Regions from separate parts of the Homo sapiens genome. Here region 2 is linked to region 1. Evidence: promoter capture Hi-C in 16 types of primary human blood cells and fetal thymus (Javierre and others, 2016). All regions are on one chromosome and are shown on one strand. The core of a region is centred on a gene start or on the middle of the fragment in contact, and the rest is flanking DNA. Distances in the headings are between cores, read along the strand shown. Region 1 holds the start of CMIP (c-Maf inducing protein). Region 2 holds the start of MIR4720 (microRNA 4720).

Region 1 (6,468 bases), core at 1,895-4,394:
GATTCAGATTCCTTTCTAGGTTGGGAGCCTGGGATAGTGGAAGGTGGAGGGGCTCTGCAATGAGTTAGCCAAATCCCAGTCTAGGAGGCTGTGGACTCAACTGTCACACTGTCACAGACTGAGTACTAACGCCATCCCAGCTCATCCCCCGCAACTTACTGACCCAGTCCTGTGGCTGGACCTTTGCTAAGCACCAAGGAGTATGTTTTTGACAATCAATCCCTGTGTATTTGCTGCACCCCAGCTTTGTCCAGGCACTGAGCTAGTGCTGTTGCCAGACAGGCGCTTCTGGCTTCTGCCCTCAGGAACTTTCTTTGCCGTGTCTTGGGGGCTCCATTTCACTGATTTGAAACTATATTCAAGAAATACTGCTATTTAAAGAGGACACTGATTGAATTCAATACTTTCTTCCTGAATGCCTGCTCAGGACAACATTACAAAGACAGACATTTGTAATGTCCTCCTAAATTCCCAGAGGAGTGGGAAGCACATGGAATTTGAGGTCGAACAGAATCTGAGGTTCAAACCTCGGCTGGATCCTGATAGTTGTCTGACCCTGTCTGAGCCTCAACTTCCTCACTTAAGATGGGGATGGTAATAGTTCCTACCTCCTAGGCTGGTGGGGAGGAATAAACGAGAACAAATACATAAGGCCTCCAGCATGGTATCTGGTGCTTGGGTACCGGTCATTATTATCACGGTATGTCCTACTTAATGTTTACAAATCAACCACTGTACTGGGCTGCATGGAGGATGTCTGGAATGGTCCTGGAATATATCAGGGATTTGCATCCTGCTAAATCTCCTCCTTCTACTGGAGTTTTGTGCCCTGTATGGGTAGGGGCGTGTCCACAGATGTCCCCGAAGTGGACAGCAGCTGCTTTGCTTGCCACTGGGCCACTCCACCCAGTGACTTTGTGCTAGCCCTTGTTGCTTCCTTCTGTGGGGGGTAGGTGAGCATGAAAGTCTCCTCACTGGCCTCCTTGCCTCTAGGTTTCTCCTCTGCAATGCTCATCTGTGCCACACTGCAGCCTTTTGAAGAAGCCATGTACAAGTCACTCCTTTGCATGGCCCATGTGGTGTCTCCCCACTGCTCTAGTCCCTGGGTTTGCATTTCAGGGTGCTGCTTGCTCACCGCCTACATCTCTGCTCCACCTCCTCCAGGGACCTTGCACCCCATGGCAAGTGAGTTCAGTTTCCTGAACAAGCTGAGCATCCTCCCATCTCTTTGCCTTGGTAGGAGCCAGTTCGTCTTCTTGGAGCACCTATCCCCTTCTTTACTTGATTCCTAAAGAACTCTTAGAGTACCCTGGTCCCCCACACTGGGTTAGACATCCCCCTTTCTGTTCCTGGAGCACCAAGCACAATGTCTGTTACTGTTCTGGACTCTGACCTCCATGCTTTGTGGTTGAGGATGAGGACAGCACCTATGTCATAGGGTGTGAGAAGAGAATGATGTGTGCGTACAAAATTCTTAGCACATAGGAAGCCTCTGGCCACTGTGGTTATTATAGTCATTACCATTAATACCCTAGTGCCTGGCCTGTGACCAGCATACAGCAGGAGCTCAATGAAAATATTTGAACAAAGGATCTAATCCCACCCGCTTAATGGACTGGGGGGTTTCTTGGCCCCAACCACCCCCCAACACCCACATATCTAGGGCTTGCCCCTTCATGCTTGGTGGTTTTCTCAAGGCTGTTCAAGCTCAAAACTGGAAGGAAATGGCAGCAAATTGTGGGGAGCTAAGGAATTTCTAACTTTCTAATCTAATTGTGCCTCCCCAAGGAGGCATCTCCTGGGCAGGCTGGATGTGAGTCTTCTTTCCTTGGTGAGGGATGCAGCCTGGGACCTGCCTTTCATCCCCTGCCTGAAACCCTGGCCAGGCTCGGGGAGAGGGTCCTCTGGGGAGCACCTTCATGCTGCCTGTTCTTGGGAGAGGGGGGGTGAATAATTTCCACCAACGGCACAGATGCTGTGGATATTCCGCAGTGTTCACGACGCAGTTCAACACACGCTGCACACATTCATGTGTTCACTACAGAGGCGCCTTCACTTAAAAAGGCAAAAATCTAGGGTTTTAACGTTATTAGCTGCAGGAGCACGTGGAGATAAGAAAACCTGGCTGAGGAGCTGAGCATTTGCTAGGTGGCCTTAGGTGCCGGCTGCTTGTGATGGCAGAAAGGGAGCTTTTTGCATCCAGGCTGCAGTTCCTGATACCCTGGGTCACAAGAGAATCGAATATGGTTCTCTCGTGGGCTGGTGCTGGGCCTGTGAACTCAGATAAAATGACCAGGTGGGGTCCCAGGGAAGGTGAAGTAGGGGGAGCTGCTGGGGTGCGCACAAGAGGGGTGGCTGTGTAGGTTGGGGGGTGCTTTAAGTGGGTTCCTAGAAGAGGCTCTGTCTCCCTGGGCAGAAGAAAGAAGGGGGATGGGCGGACCGTCCCCTCTCTCCAGAAGGTTTGAGGACCCCCAAGGCCAAAGCCAGCAGACGTCAAAGGCCAGGAGTTCGAGGCCGGCTGGGTCCCGCAGTGGGAGACAGGGCAGGGTGGGCTCATCCTCCGGATCACCGCGGGGACACTTTCAGTCGGGAAGGCGTCCCCGTCCCACGGCCCCATCTGGCCAGCCCGCTGGACAGCCTGGACAGCGGAGGGGGCGTCAGGGGTCGAGGGTTCCAGTCCCCGTCCTTCCACCCAGCCCCCGGCCCTCGGGTATCCTTCTTTACCCGTCCGAGTCCGGCCCGGGGGCGGCGGGGGTGGGTGAGGCGCGGGCCCCCAGGCTCCGGCAGCCTGGCTGGGCTCCCGCCCGGGCACCCGCGGGGGCGCGGCTGGCGTGACGTCACGCGCCCCGCCCCCGCGCCCCGCCCCCTCCCCACATTCCAGGCGGGGCGGGCCGGGACCCCGCGGGGCTCGCCCGCCCCAGCCCCCTCCCCAGGGGCTGCCCCTCCCGTCGGGCCGCGCCTCCCCGTCGTGGGCCGCGACCCCGCCCGGACCGCGGACTCCGCCCGCGAGAGGCCGAAGCCGCCGCGGCCGCCGCCGTTGCCGCCATTGACGTCAGAGGGGCGGGCACATGACCCTGCGGGGACCAATCGCGCGGGCGCCCCGGGCTCCGGGAGCCCGGCGCGCGGCCCGCCCCGCCCGCGGCCACTCTCGCCCGGACGGCCGCGCGGACACACGCTCTGTACACACGCGCGCGGCGGCGCGGGGCCCCGAGACACGCCCGCCCCCACCCCGCCGCCCCCACCCCGGCGCCCGCCCTCCGCGCCTGGCCCCGGCCCGCCCTCGGCCTCCCCCGCCCCTCCCCGTCGCCCGCCGAGCCCGGTCAGCCGCCGCGAGCATGCACCCGACGAGCTAGGAGGAAGCCCGGAGCCCCGCAGGAAGCGCCGAGGCCGGCCCAGCCCGCCGCACGCGCCGCCCCCCGCGGGCAGCGCCCCCTCCCCTGCGGGCGCCCCCAGCCCCACACCCCCCCACCTTCCCGGGGGGTGGGGGGGTGCGGGCCGCCGGATCCGGGGGCCCCGCCGCCCCAGCAGCCCAGGACAGCCCCCTCTCCCCGCCCCCAGCCCCCTCCCCCGGCGCGGCCATGGATGTGACCAGCAGCTCGGGCGGCGGCGGCGACCCCCGGCAGATCGAGGAGACCAAGCCGCTGCTGGGGGGCGACGTGTCGGCCCCCGAAGGCACGAAGATGGGCGCCGTGCCCTGCCGCCGGGCTCTTCTGCTTTGCAACGGGATGAGGTACAAACTGCTGCAGGAGGGCGACATTCAGGTCTGTGTCATCCGGCACCCGCGGACCTTTCTCAGCAAGATCCTCACCTCGAAATTCCTGAGGCGCTGGGAGCCGCACCACCTAACGCTGGCCGACAACAGCCTGGCGTCCGCCACGGTGAGTGGCTCTGCGCGGCTGCACCCCCGCCTCTCCTCGGGGCCCGAGATGCGCCCTCCCTGGCTGCCCCCTGGCGCTGCACCTGGAGCCCAGGGCCTGGGGGGCGGTGGGGGGTGCCGGGGGAACGGGGAGAACCAGGGCGCCTCGCTCCTGGCCTGCTCGCGGGGCTCGATTTTGGAGTCTGAAGCCCAAACCAGCCGACCGGGCTCAGGAGAGACCCTTAAAATGCTGGAGACTCGGCCCACCGCCAGGCTGGGTGCCTGGGGACCTTCTGCCCCCAGCTCTTGTGTTTCTGGTGGCTGGGACTCGAGGATGGACCCGACGCTGGGCCCTGATGGTGGTGGGGGTTCTCTCTGGAAGCCCCTGGCCCATCTGGATCTGAGGGGTGGGGGAGGGGAAAACAAAATACCACCCCTCAGATTTAAAAAAAAAAACAAACAACACAACAAAACCTCCAAACCCCCAAACCCAAAGAATTTCCAGAAGCCAGTTTCTCTGTTTGGTTTACCCGTCCTTTATTCTCTTTCCTGCCAGGGCTGGCAGGCAGAACGGGGTGCTTCCCTTTCTGAAAATCTCATTCGCACATTGAGAGGTTGGAAGTGGAGGGGGAGGGGGCAGTGGTCCTGGAATATCTCAGGACCCAGCGGTGGTCGAGTTCTAGCCTAGAAGCTGCTTGGTGGAGCCCTGGTCCGGCATTGTCTGTAGAGTGTGTGTATACGTGTGTGTTTTGTTGCTGGAGGTTTAATTTTGTTATTGTTTTTAAATACATGGGTAGGACTGGGTCAGCTGGATGAGTCGGAGAGGAAAAACCATTGATCTGTTTCTGAAATCAGATCTGCAAATGGTGGCCTTCTTCGTACGTGGAGAAAGACAGCTGTGGTGGGGTCGAGGGGAGAGTGGGGGTGGCGGGTAGGAGCCTGAACAGGATGCTTTGTGTTTTGAAACAAGGACAGTTTCAAATACCGGCTGTGGCTTGGGCCTGAGGCTTGCCGTGGGGGTCCCATCCTCATTGGGGGTGTAGCTTGTCTTCCCCAGAATGCACACTCCTCCCTGGGGCCACCGTGATCCTGTTTACTAAGCGCAGTGGGAGGGGGCCGAATCCACTGCCTGCCCACACCTGTGCCAAGAAAACCCAGCCAGGAAATAGGGTGTCGCTTACATGGCATGTCACAAACGTGTAGCGTGTGTAGACATTTCCCTGGCATCCATGTTCCCTTGGCGGTGTGTCACAGGCCATGACACATGCCCCAAGGAATGGGGAGGGGGGAAAAGTTAGCTGAAGAATCCTACTCTTTGAACCAGTCCCCCACCCCCCACCCCAGAGCGTTGCAGCCCTCGAGGACTTTTATTCTTAATTTGGGGTCCGACATGCTTAGAGCACCTATTTTCTCTTTCCTGTGGGCACGTTGGTGCAATATCTGCAAAGACTCCTTTTTCAGGGAGGATTGCTGGTCGCGGGGAGGCGGCCCAGTCCCCGGTCAGGCTGGTGCATGTTCTCAAGCCCGTCCCGCGCCACAGGCCGCAGCATTTGGCTTTCCAATGGATGGAGGCGGGAGAGAGCCTCCGAAAATTTGCCAGTACGGAGTGTTTCTGATGTGGGGAGGAACTGGTGACCGCGGTGCCCCCTGCCTGGATTCTGGAGACCCCAGATCTGGCTTCAGAATTTTCACCTGGCTCAGGGGGACTTTATTGGGCTTTTTTTTTTTTTTTCCTCTTACACTCCACAAAATGAAGGGTTGTTGGTGGTGGGGTAGGAAAATGGTTAGAAGGAACAGTGACCTGCCATGGGAAGGCCAGGAGGAGCCCCTTCTCCCTCTGGGAGAAGCCAGGAGTGAGTGTCCCGCTGCTACCGTCCTGTTTCCGGAAAGCCAGCTCTCGAGGCTAATGCCTCCCCACTTACCTCCGATTGCTCAGGAGGTATATCTGAGAGAAAGAGGGAAGGAAGAAAGACCTGAATAGCCAGAGGCCCCTCGCTCACCTTGGCCAGCCCAGGTAGGTGGCACCATCGGTAGTGTGGGCCTTTCCGGAAAGCACCTGTCTAGTACTGGGGACTGAGGCTTATCCATGGAGCAAGATTCTCTTGGCAGAGCCATGCTCTGGTGTTAGGAAATGTGGCAAGAGGAACTATAAGGAAGTGTTTGATGGACTGGCATAATCCCCTTTCCGCTGCCTTTCGTCACCAAGCACTACAGGCAGGGGGTGTCCTTAAGTCTTACCCTTGCCCTCTGGTGGGCTCCAGGGGGCCTTGCCTCAGGGCCTGTGAGCCTGGAGGTGGGGCTGTGAGGGCTGGCCTGGCTGGAGCGCTGGCCTCCCGGGTAGAGGTGAGGTTGGGACTGCCACCAGGGCTCTCGTCCCATCATGAGACACCTGGTTGGTGTCCAGGCTCTCGGGGAAGCAGCGGAGCCCCTGTGGGGTTTCCCTGAGGCCTGGACATTATGTAATCTGTCTGCGTTTTATAGTGCGGCCCAAGCACTCTATTGAGAAATATGAGCCCAAATAAAACAAAGGTGAATTTGAGTGCAGTTCCCTAGAACAAAAACCCTTTGCAGTCCTGTGGCTTCGCAGCAGCCGCTGGCCCAGCCCTGAGCTC
Region 2 (6,468 bases), core at 2,069-4,568, 60 kb before region 1:
TGAGGTGGCGCTTTGACTGTATCAATTTAAAGATGCCGGAACCCCGTTAAAAACACCTGGTGGAAGGGAAAGGTGAGGCGGCCCTTTTCCACTGGCTGCTCACTGAGCACTGGAGTCCAGGAAGTCAGTGAGAAGAGAGCAGCTGAGTGTAGCAAAACCCGCCTTGGGTCAGCCAACACATGTCTGATGAGCACCCACTAGGAACTGTGCTTGCCATCCTGGGAGCTGAACAGTGAGGCAGAGGTCACACCACTCTCCTACTCAAGGTCATAAACCCACTATGGAACGGGCAAGGGCCCCGTCTTTGTCATCTGCCAGTCTCAGTGCTTGCACAGAGTAGGTAGGCAATAAACATTTGACAAATAAATATAAGATTCTTGTGATCAAAGTAATGTTCTTCTGTTGAAAAGGGCACTCCAAGAGTGACTGATTTTACTGGGTTTTCAGTGAGAAACTTTGTACCCATATGGGCTGGCCTCCTATACGGAGCTGAAACTAGCATGGGCCGGCCTCCTATATGGAGCTGAAACTAGTATAGCATAAACAATGCCAAGTGCCTGATGTACATGATGTACAGTCTTCTGATTGTACCCTCTATATGGGACTATGAGACCCTCTATAGACTCAGCACAGCTTATAATGTTGATCATGTTTAGTATTGGGCTTTATTGACTGCTTTTTATATGGGTGTCAAAATCTTTCCAGGACATACCCCTTTGATCCTCACACCTCTGGAATAGGCAGGGCACTCTCCCCATTGTACCAGGGTAATCTTGGAGGCCTGATAGATATGGCTTCATTTCTCACTTTAGGGAGGAGCAAGAACCAAAAGCAGAAGCCAGGTCTTTGGATTATCAGCTCACCAGTCAGCCAGTGAGGCTGGAACTTGATTTTTCTAGGCATACAAGTATTTTTAGTAATAGAATAATCATTTTTAGTATTAATACAATTTACGCTCCCAAACATGTCCTTTGCTAGTTGCACAGGCATAAGCTGAAAGATCTTTGATTTTCTTTGTTAGTTAGCTATAGGAAGGTTAAGAATTTATTTACTAAGGTCGTAAGAACAGAAGAAAGTTTCTTTGAAAGAGAAACTGTTTTTTTATTTCAAAGAGCTTCATGTATACTTCCCTCTCTTATTCCATGTAATTAGTAAGGGAAAATAAACTATGTCTTAGAATGTTGAGGAAAGTATTTTGATAGCTTTTAATAATTCTTGAAATACTCTTTACTCTGTCTGTAGTTTTGAGAAATTACAGAAATTCATAGTATAAGGATGAGAAGGGGCCCATTTGCCCATATTTGATAACACAGACTTGGATTGAGTGTCTGTCATGCCTGCTGGCAGTTAAGTCTCAGTGGTATTGACTGCTAGGCATTTTCTATATTTTTTGCAAGTTAGCTGGTAAAACTTGGTAAAGTTTTGTGTTTTTCAGAAGGAACCCTATTATTATTTCCATTTTAAACATATTTCAATATTGTCTCATTGTAATAGTTCCATTTATGTGACATCTGAGGAATTAAATCATACTTCCAGATGGTTTGGTCTAATGTATACAGTTTAGGAAAGTTTATTCTTTTTTATTTTATTTTATTTTTTTAAATTTCTTTTAGAAACTGGGTTTTGCTCTGTTGCCCAGGCTGATCTTAAACTCCTGGCCTCAGATGTGGAGACCCAGCTGGGACTACAGGCATGAGCCACCACGCTCCGTAGAAAGTTTGTTCTTTTTCAGTTCTGTCATTGAAATTCTCTAAGTGATTGGATTTTTAAACCCCTTCCCCTTTTCATGAAATTAAACATCAAATAAATAAAACTACATTATATAATTATTTAGTCAGAAATGACTGTTGCCCTCTCTTTTTTTTTTTTTTTTTTTTTTTTTTTTGAGACGGAGTCTCGCTCTGTCGCCTAGGCTGGAGTGCAGTGGTGCGATCTCGGCTCACTGCAATCTCCGCCTCCTGGGTTCAAGCAATCATCCTGCCTCAGCCTCCCCAGTACCTGGGATTACAGGTGCTTATTACCACACTCGGCGAATTTTTTGTGTTTTTAGTAGAGACGGGGTTTCACCATGTTAGCCAGCATGGTCTCGATCTCCTAAACTTCGTGATCCGCCCGCCTCAGCCTCCCAAAGTGCTGGATTACAGGTGTGAGCCACCTCGCCTGCCCTCTTTTTTTTTTTTTATTTTGAGATTAAAACTAATTCTTTTAAAGTCACTACTCAGCTGAAATTTGGCCTGATTATAAATGTTGATAATAATTTCTTCCTGGCTCAACAAAGTTGTTGAGCTTCCTTCTGTGCACACATTGAAAGAAAACCAGAAATTGTACAGTCGTGATATGAATTAGAGAAGGAACAGGTGGAAAAGGATGGCAACACACAGAGTCCGGGGGACACACGGCCTTAAGATGAAGTGAACGAGTAGACACTGAATAGGATCCACGTAAATGAACGGCCATTTCAAATCATTCACATCCCAAACGGAGGTTCATCTGTCTTCTGGTTGGTGAATTATATTTATTAGGATCTTATTTTTAGCATTTCATTACAAGTAATAGGTTTGGGTACCTTATTTTTATTGTTTTTACTCATCAGTTATGAATAAGGCATACCTTAGAAACTTGGGTTAAATTTTTTCAAGTTATACCAGTCAACTTGGTTTAAATACAACTGTACTAACTTGCTTTATCATGTTTCCTGTTTAATTGGATGAGAATTACATGCACTTATTCAGTTGTTCTTTGTGTTTATAGGAAAAACTCTGTTCTCAGCTACCTCATTATGTAGTATTGTGCTTGATCCCCTGCCAATTGAGAAGAATTCAACACATTCTGTTCTTTAACAAAAGCTTGGAAGCAGGCAGTCAGAGGCCTTGAGGAATACAATTCTCTAAGGCCTGTTTTCCATTTTACTACTTAAAAAAAAAAAAAAAAGAAAAGAAAAAAAAGCACTTACAACCAGGAGGAATAATAATTCTCCTAGAGTTGCTGCAAACTGATTACTTGAAACTCAACTTGAACTTTAAAGAGTCTTTAAAAGGCTGTTTTCATAATGCAGAAAAGTAGTCTATTTAAACGCCACTGCTGTGTAAAACAGGGGGCTCGATTTCCATTCTTGTTAGCATCAGACAAGAAAATGTGTCTATCTGTCATCTGACCCAGTATTTGGGATTTGGGTGCTTGAGGATACTATTTTTTTCATTTCTTATAAGGTGCTATTGTTTCCCAGAAATCTTTAATTTTGATGAAAATCTACTCATTGCTAAGATCCTCCTCACTTAAAGTGTTTCCTCAGTGCAGAGTTGAGGTTGGCAGAACTATATAGAGTTGGATGATACTGAAAATCATGAATGATGTGATTTGTTCCATGTATCTGTGGAACATCCCTCACCTTCCTCCGGTATGCGCCTTCTGCACTCCACACGTGGTCGCCTCCATCCTCCCTAGTGTCTGTCAGCTTGCCTGGTCACCAAGTCAGGAGGAAGAAGATGAGGAGGCTCACCAGTTGTAGGCAAGACTCTTCCTCTCGGGAGATCTTGTAATAATGGCCCAGTTTCAGGGCACAGTTGTACACATTCTACTTAAATGGAGGAGTTCAGTGATGCCGTGGCCAAAAGAGTTATGCCCATTTCTAAAAGCCTGGCATATTTGGTATAACTTAAGCACCAGGTAAAATCTGGTGCTTAAGTTGTACCAAGTATAGCCAAGTTTAACTGTCGTTGTGTATTAATAAGATTTAATTTTTATGCTTGTGCTTTTCAGAGTAAAGGGCTTGCTTTCAATAGTAGAATGACAAAGCTTCTCCTCCAATGACAATCTGTTAGCACCCTGTTGACTTAGCTCAGGACATGAGACTGACTTAGCTCAGGACATGAGACATTTCCTGGAAGTGATTTCCATGAGAACAAAGGCTTATTCCTTTAACTTAAACCCCAAACTTTGTTATTTTAATTATTTTCAGGCAATCATCTTTATATACTTTCCTTACAAACCCAGTGGTTGAGAGCATAGGCCTTGGTGGCAGGTGCATCTGGGCTTGGGGGCTTCTGCCACACTTACTACTCTGTGACTTGGGAAGCTCTTAAGGCTCCCAAGGCTCCGTTTCTTATGTGGAAGAAGAATAGCAGGAGGACTCACCTCTGCGGGTTGTTGTGAGGATTAACTGGGTGATGACTGTAAGCAGCTGGGAGAGTGCCTTGTGTGCAGTGACCACTGTTGCTGCCACCATGATTATGTCACCTCTCAACATGGGGTGGTGGGAGGCCCTGTGGATGAGGCCAAGGCTGCCTGCACTGAGTGTCCCAGGCCTTATAGCTTTCCACATTCTCACGTCTGCTGCCACATGATATACAAGTAAATGTATTAGAAGTTGGTGTTCATAAAATACTTTTTTTTTTTTTTTTTTTTGAGATGGAGTCTCGCTCCGTCACCCAGGCTGGAGTGCAGTGGCGCCATCTCCCAGGCTCAAGGGATCCTCCTGCCTCGGCCTGCCAAGTAGCTGGGACTACAAGTGCACACCAGTATGCCCAGCTAATTTTTTGTATTTTTAGAACAGGTGTGGTTTCACCATATTGCCCAGGCTGGTCTCGAGCTCCTGAGCTCAGGCAATCCGCCTGCCTCAACCTCCCAAAGTGCTGGGATTACAGGTGTGAGCATCCAGCCAGAAAATGATTTGCTTTCTAGACCCATATCACCTCTCTCCATCTACATCTCTAGTATTTAAATTCAACACAATTCTAGATAGCTGAAACAGCCCAAAATATGTGTTTAGAATACTTAGAGTTTGTTATAAATAACCCTCTGTTTAGAATTTGCCCAGTGAAATTCTCTAATAATACTTAAAACTCTTTACTAAAGTTGAATTTTCCTTTTTTTTCATTGAAATAGCAAAGGTAGTAATCTGTATTGGTCAAAGAAACGAGATAATTCCTAGATCTCTGTTTTAGACCAGTAGACCTAACTGTGCTTTCTTAACTTGGATGTTACATGAAACTTAAAAACAAACAAATATGTGTTACAAGTACTTGTGTGTACGTGCATGTGTGTTTGTGCATGTGTCTGTGTGTGTGGAACTTTTGTACCTTTGCATAAAGAAGGTTATTTAACAAAGTGGTACAAACAGTGAACTACTTAATCCTTCTATGGTATCATACACTTCTTTTCCTGGTTAGGTTATGAGACTGGCAGAGGTAGGAGTATATAATGTGCTCAGCTTGTCTTGATTTCAATAAGACATTTGATAAAGTCATTCTTGATCTCTGAATGTGAAAAGGAAGTAGAACAGCCGGGCGCGGTGGCTCACGCCTGTAATCCCAGGACTTTGGGAGGCCAAGGCGGGCAGATCACCTGAGGTCGGCAGTTTGAGACCAGCCTGACCAACGTGGAGAAACCCCGTCTCTATTAAAAATACAAAATTAGCCGGGCATGGTGGCACATGTCTGTAATCCCAGCTACTCGGGAGGCTGAGGCAGGAGAATCTCTTGAACCCAGGAGGCGGAGGTTGCGGTGAGCCGAGATGGTGCCGTTGCACTCCAGCCGGGCAACAAGGGCTAAACTCCATCTCAAAAGAAAAGAAAGAAAGGGAAGTAGAAGTAGGATTTAACAAAGGACCGAGAAGTCGGCTGAATAGCCAGGTTCAGACAGTGTTGGCAAGAACGGATCTTTGGCAAGATCACTTAAGGTGAGCTACTCTAGCAGCATCCTGTTTGACATTTGTATCCATAACTTGAATAAAAATATAGAAGGCAAAGAAGAGTGCTGGGCAAGATGTGTTGGGTGTTAGATCTGCAATACTCTTCATAGTGTAATGGCTAAATGTAAAGTCTTACGTCTCGGTTCAAGAAAGCACGTTGCTATATGAAATTTCAGAAAAAAGTTTTGTTGCGGGGGGTGGGATATTGATCATTTGAACATATGCCAGTTGTTTCTCCTGCCCTAGGGGAGGTTGGCACGGCAACCTTCCCACTCCGTAGGTGGGTAGCCTTGCTGATGGGGCACGTCGTCACCAAGGGACCTGATTGTTGTCATGGTTTTGTCTTGTCCTCCTCCCTGGTGAAAGTCTACTGCAGTTTTATTCTCAGCTCTGGAAGGAGAGGGAACGAGCCTCTGCCTGTGTGTCCTGACCCCTCTTGCCTTGTTTTTGATCTGCTCAGGCCGGGTGCAGTGGCTCACGCCTGTAATCCCAGCACTTTGGGAGGCAAAGGCAGGTGGATCACTTGAGGTCAGGAGTTCAAGACTAGCCTGGCCAACATGGTGAAACCCCGTCTCTACTAAAAATACAAAAATTAGCCGAGTGTGTTGGTGGGCCCCTGTAATCCCAGCTACTCGGGAGGTTGAGGGAGGAGAATCACTTGACCCCAGGAGGCAGAGGTTGAAGTGAGCCAGGATTGTGCCACTGTACTCCAGCCTGGGCGACAGAGGGGGACTCTGTCTCACAAAAAAATAAAAAATTAAAAAAAAAGGTCTGCTCAG

What was found. The method cuts DNA at HindIII sites, captures the fragments that hold promoters and counts their contacts. A CHiCAGO score of 5 or more calls a contact.
Region 2: a fragment that was not itself captured here is called in contact with the fragment with the promoter of CMIP in region 1 in 1 of 17 cell types (total B cells); the score reaches 5.1 in total B cells.

Annotation. Positions count from the first base shown.
Region 1 is chr16:81,441,664-81,448,131 of GRCh38, forward strand. CMIP (c-Maf inducing protein) reads left to right here and starts at 3,145. Exons shown (of 21, transcript NM_198390.3): 1 at 3,145-3,878. The coding sequence starts at 3,579. RefSeq lists enhancers at 1,986-2,518, 4,683-5,448, 5,449-6,212 and silencers at 2,728-2,827, 2,938-3,287, 3,358-3,407, 3,838-4,137. The HindIII fragment of the contact is 9,361 bases long and covers 1-6,468 here.
Region 2 is chr16:81,381,386-81,387,853 of GRCh38, forward strand. GAN (gigaxonin) reads left to right here. Exons shown (of 11, transcript NM_022041.4): 11 at 1-6,468. It overlaps MIR4720 (microRNA 4720), which reads left to right and starts at 3,633; the gene lies at 3,633-3,708. RefSeq lists a silencer at 5,489-5,683. The HindIII fragment of the contact is 949 bases long and covers 2,845-3,793 here.